Linked DNA regions of Homo sapiens: region 1 is linked to region 2. The links are contacts of gene promoters, found by promoter capture Hi-C in blood cells and fetal thymus (Javierre and others, 2016). All regions are on one chromosome and are shown on one strand. Each heading gives the region's core, a stretch centred on a gene start or on the middle of the fragment in contact. The rest is flanking DNA. Distances are from core to core; before and after follow the strand shown.

What was found. The method cuts DNA at HindIII sites, captures the fragments that hold promoters and counts their contacts. A CHiCAGO score of 5 or more calls a contact.
Region 1: a contact is called between a fragment that was not itself captured here and the fragment with the promoter of CENPE in region 2, in 1 of 17 cell types (naive B cells). The highest score is 6.3, in naive B cells.

Annotation. Positions count from the first base shown.
Region 1 is chr4:99,818,494-99,821,356 of GRCh38, reverse strand. The region is part of intron 1 of DAPP1 (dual adaptor of phosphotyrosine and 3-phosphoinositides 1); the gene reads right to left. Among named protein-coding and RNA genes, the nearest start is that of DAPP1, 3.1 kb to the right of the region's middle. The HindIII fragment of the contact is 5,274 bases long and covers 1-2,863 here.
Region 2 is chr4:103,196,665-103,199,645 of GRCh38, reverse strand. CENPE (centromere protein E) reads left to right here and starts at 1,303. Exons shown (of 49, transcript NM_001813.3): 1 at 1,303-1,382; 2 at 2,796-2,887. The coding sequence starts at 1,327. RefSeq lists an enhancer at 887-1,441. The HindIII fragment of the contact is 3,749 bases long and covers 1-2,257 here.

The DNA of each region.
Region 1 (2,863 bases), core at 39-2,538, 3.4 Mb after region 2:
TACTTACAAAGTCTGTGACCTGGATCGTATACTTAGCTTATTGAAGTCACCTTTTGCGTCTATGAAATGAGTATGGTGATATCGTATTGAAAGTGTTATTGTGAAGCCTAAATGGCATTATGCGTGTGAATGGTATGGTGCTGATGCATAGTAGGTGGTCAGTAAATTAGGACTATCACAGCAGGGAAACAACCTGGTTTGTGAAGTCAGCATGGGTTTTGAACACAGACACTCAGAGACTGTAGGCAACCTGATTTTTCTGCTCTTGAGTCTCTTCCTGTGTAAAGCTGGAATACCAGTGCCTTTCAAAGACCAGAGCTGGTGTCTACAAAATGCCTGCCTTATAATACGGACTCATTTTGTTTATTATCATTTATTCCGTGGGTCAGCAAACCACCAGCTGAGGGTTAATTCCTGTCAGACACCTGTTTTAGTATGGACTGGGAGCCAAGAATGGCTGTACATTTTGAAATGCTTGAGGGAAATAGAAAAATATTCATAAAAATTATATGAAATTCACATTTCAGTGTATAAATAACGTTTTGTTTGAACACCATCACGGTCATTTGTTTCTGTGTTCTCTGGTAGTTTTTGCACAACAGCAGATGTGAGTAGTTGAGGTAGAGACTGTAAGGCCTGCAAAGCCTAAAACATTCGTTACCCGGCCCTTTATAAAAAAAAGGTTTGCTGCTCCATGGTCTACTCTAAACTTCTCTTATATGTGACTAATTAGTTATCAATTTATTTAAATATTCAGAGCTTGGAATCTAGTTCTTTGGCACTGGCCAATCCAGCCAAACACTGGCACTTTCTTATACAACTTTCGATTTGAGAAAGTATTTAAAAAAGAGAACGTTTATTATGTTTCTCACTTGGAGTTACAACTGACTAGATCATTTGAATATTTAATTTTAAAGTATGCTAAAACACTTTCATTTTGTTATTTCTTTTGTGTTTATACATATATATAGCTATATGTAGAAATAGTATAGTAACCTTTGTTAAAGCCAAAGAATTGCTGGAATTTTCAGTAATTTAACTAGCTATTCTTTACCAGTTTGTTACTTAGGTGATATCTCCAGTATTTGTTACTTGTTTTATTTTGCCATATTTTCATTTTGCAAGCAGCAAACAGCCTGACCCATCTCCTCGTTCATGGTCCACCTCCTTCCTCTCCCCTGATTCTCCACACCCTCACTTCTTGCCCTCCCCACACCTCTCTTCCCCCTAAGCCCATACCCTCCCCTGAGAAGTGTAAGCGAAGCTGAGCAACAATTTAAGATGGTTTTATTTCTCCTTTGCTTCTGGACACATTAATGTATTTTAGATGAAAGAAAATTAATGATTTTAGGCTGACACTCTATAAATGAGACATGGAAAAGCACTGTGTTGCTTGATTTAGGTATTTTAGAAAATAATAAACCTGTACTCTGAGCAAGTTGTATATGTCCTGGAAAGGCAAGTGATGGATTTGCTGCAGTTCAGGGCTCAATTTACAGGATTTACATATTCCAGAGCCTGAAAAAAACAGAGGCCCAAGAACAAAGACTTCTGCTATTTCTGTAATTTAACCACTAACTTATCTGTTTATGTCTATCAAAAACATAAACGTAAGGATTTATCTAACTACTCAAATAACCTCTTAAAAATAATTGAAAAATTAAGTCATTAAAACCAGCTACCTTTTATCTATCCATTACATTAAATCATTTTGTTTTTAAGGAGGTCTTTGGAAACTAAATTAATCAGAAGGTTTGGTAGAGATTCTATCTCGCCAGTGGTTAAAGGTTCAAAGAAAAAGTCATTATAATGTTCGAGTTATGTTCAGTATTCTGGCAGAGGCAACAAGTCATTGTCAAGAGTTCTCAAATTGTTATCTATAAAAAATGTATCAGTGAGGTGCTGCAGGAGCAAGTACTGGCACAAGTTGATTATTAAATATTCAATTCGATGATGTTAAATTGTTGGCAGCTTGAAATTGTCTATAGTGGGAGTATTTATACCAGGGAATTAGGCAAATTCTTGAAATCAGGGCTTTCTCCACACCCCAACTCTTCCCAGCTGTTTTTCCAGCACACTGTTGAGTATGCTTAAATAAGCCATACATCTGAGGGTTCTTTTTGGGAGAACAGAAATGTCCTAAAACTGATTTATGGTGATGGTTGTATCACTCTGTAAAGTTAGTCAAAAGTATTGAATTGTACACTTGAAACGGGTATATTTTATGATATGTAAAATAACCTCAATAAAGTTGCTAATCGAAATGCCCCTAAACCAACAAACAAAATATCAACATTTATTAGTAATTTTAAGATTCAAGTACACACCCAACAGACTTAAAATGAAAAACAAGACCACATTTACCTAATGCATTTGGTAGATACATATTCTATGCAGTGATCATCAACCTAGGGTCTCACTTTGGAATTACTTGGAGAGTTTGACAAGAAAACACCCATCCCCAGAGATACTGAAATCATTTGTCAAGTCTGTGGTTTGGGTGTCAAGATGTTCCAGAGCACAGCCAAGGTCAAGAACCAGGACTGTAGAGCAGTTTTCCCAGATAACTGCAGGTTGCCCATTGCTATAGAAATCATCCTCATGTTTATTAATTGTTCACGCCTTCTGAAATAGGGAAATCTGGCCATGAATGTACCCTTTTTTTTTTGCAGGGAAGTGGTGTGACTCAGTTTTGTATTCAATGTCTATTCTTTGCACATGGAGGAAAGACACAGTCCTATTCCACCCGTGGGTTTCACCTGTAGTTGCTTCTTGCTGTTGACATCATGGTGGGGCACAGAGACAGCATCTAATTCATCTTTGTCATCTAAGTGTGTTCCCACAGTACTCAACCATAGACTCT
Region 2 (2,981 bases), core at 54-2,553:
GACCTGCCTAGGCAACACTGTGAGACCCCACTCCCTACCCTAATCCCCCCACCACCCCGTCTCTACAAAAAAATTTAAAAATTATCTGGGCTTGTGATGTGCCTGTAATCCAAGCTACTCAGGAGGTTAAGGTGGGAACCCCACTTGGGCTGAGGCCAGGAGTTGAGCCTGCAGTGAGCTGTGTTCAGCCTACTGCACTCTAGCCTAGGTGACAAAGCAAGAACTCATGTTTATTTAAAAAAAAAAAAAAAAAAAAAAGAGAGAGAGAGAAGAAAGGGAAAATAAGCATTATTTTTGGGAAAAAATCACTGTATTTAGAATAGCTTTCCCTCTTAGTTAATAAAAGTAACAAACCAGGCCAGGAGCGGTGGCTCACGCCTTTAATCCCAGCACTTTTGGAGACCGAGGCAAGTGGATCACCTGAGGTCAGGACTTTGAGACCAGCCTTGCCAACATGGCGAAGCCCCGTCTCTACTAAAAATACAAAAATTACCTGGGCGTGGTGGCGGGCACCTTGTAATCCCAGCTACTGGGGAGGCTGAGGCAGGAGAATCACTTGAATGCAGGAGGTGGAGGCTGCAATGAGCAGAGATAAGCACCACTGCACTCCAGCCTGGGGTGACAGAGCGAGACTCCGTTTCCAAAAAAAAGAAGAAAAAAAAAGTATCAACCCATTACTCAATGAGTTTTTCAGTCCTCGGTATTTATTTTCCCTAATTCAACCTCTGAGGAAGCCACAGCTAATGGAAACGAGTTACAGAGAGAGAGAAACAGGAGAAAAGCCTAAACTCAGATTTTCTAAGGCGCACAACAGGCTTGTCACGTTTCTGGACTGGACAGCGAATTTCAACTCTTGCTGTTGAAAGTTTATTTTAAACTGTTGGTGCAGTTTCTTTAAAAGACGGCAATTCTGTTTGGGTAGTGAAAAATACATGTATCTCTACCTAGTTTCGTCTACAGGTTCCAAACTTTTTAAGGATGGGGTGGAGGATGACGTTCGCTAGCTTTTGGCAGATAATAGTATTCTGGTATTCCAGGACCACCACTCTCTGCCCACTCCTGGGAGCCCCTCCCTTCGGCCCTCTCCTCCGACTCTCTGCTGGGCCCTTTAAATCCCCTCTCCTGTTTAGCAGTGGTCACGCCGCCCGCCTTGCGTCCCCCGCGCTGCTCCGCACGTGGAATGGCCCATGACGTCACGAGGCCACGGCTCAATCAGATGCGGCGTTTGGGAAATTTTAAATTTAAAGGCGGGGCGGCCTGTGAGCCCTGAAGTGCCGGCCGCGGAGGGTCCTGGCCATTTTCCTGGGACCAGTTCAGCCTGATAGGATGGCGGAGGAAGGAGCCGTGGCCGTCTGCGTGCGAGTGCGGCCGCTGAACAGCAGGTAGGGGGGCCACACCACGGCCCGGTGCCCGCTGGGCCTGCGGCGCCGCCCTGAGCCGGAGGGGCGAGGCCTACGATGTTTCCAGGAGCCGCTGCTTCCCGGCTCTGCTGTCTAGTGACTCGGCTGCTGGCCATCGTTTCAGGGTCTGTAAAGTGACAGGGGAGGATCGGAGATCTAGAAGATACTTTCCAGCTGCGAGATTCACTTAAATTTAACTCAGTCTCGCTGACATACAGACCTTCCCTTCTGTGCTGCTCTGCCTTGCGGCATCTGCTCCTCCCTGCCCCATTCCCCGCCTAGAGAAGTCGTATGGGACCGTGCCTTCCTGGCCCTCATCACAGTTAGTCATTTTACACCTAACTGCTGTCTCCAGACCCTCTGAAGACAAGGGCTAGTCTGTCTTGTCACATTACATTCAATCGTCACTCAAGATCATTCTACAAATATTTATCAATTTTTTTTTAGTGACTTTGTACAACACAGACACTCCCGTCATTGCCCAGTGGCTCTTCCATTCTAATGGGACGAGACAGAAAGTAAAGTTGAAAATGTAGGATGTTAAGTGGTGATATGTAGGTAATAAGTGCTAGGGAGAAAAAGCAGGAAGAGGAATAAATGAAATCGGTTTGCTTCACTAGCTTCTGGCCCTCGACCCGAAATGCTAACACTTTGTGTGTGTGAGAAATTTTTATTGAACACGGGGTTTAATAAATGCAAATACCAAGATCAGGAATTTCCTATTTTTGAGGAGCTCATTATCTAATGCCTTAAACGGCTACATAAAGAAACCATTAGGATACCTTTTGACAAGTGTTATGATGGGCAGGTAGAGAATGTTTGCTAGAGGAGTTATTAGCCCATCAGAGACGAAAGCTTCCCGTGGGGTGAACTGGTGTCAGAAAAGTCTTGACGCTTTTCATGAGTGAAATAATCCCTATGTTACTTAATGGAAAGGGAAGTCAGAGTATTCCAGGCACAGAGAGGTTACATCTGTCATTTGGGGAAGACCTTCAGGTAGAGCTTAGGATGTATCTAGGAATTCAGAGGAAAATGGAAGAGAGAAATGACATGATCTAGGACTCGTGCCCTGCTGAGGATTTCATAAGTTTCCAAAAGGTTTTAAGAATTTTAAGCAAGACAGACATAATCAGAGTTGCATTTTGAATCCATCCCTTTGTTTACCAGTACTGGGGGAGAGGGTGAGAATGAAAGCCTTCACAAGAAAACACTTTTGAGGCGGCAGAAGGTCACTGAAGCTCCATTTAAGAGTTGAATCCTCAAAGATGGACTTTCTGTCATTCTCTTATGTTACTATCTTTCAAAATATTCTTTAGCAGGTGAAATCTTTTCAATTATTCCTCCTATGACATGACTTTTATGACTGGTTAAAATGCGGTGTTTTTATTCTTTTAGAGAAGAATCACTTGGAGAAACTGCCCAAGTTTACTGGAAAACTGACAATAATGTCATTTATCAAGTTGATGGAAGTAAATCCTTCAATTTTGGTAAGCTTATAATAGCATCAAAAGTTACCTTGTTATCCTTTTGCTATTAAAAGTACAAAAGGCTTATCAATAATATTAGATTTGTCACTAAAGA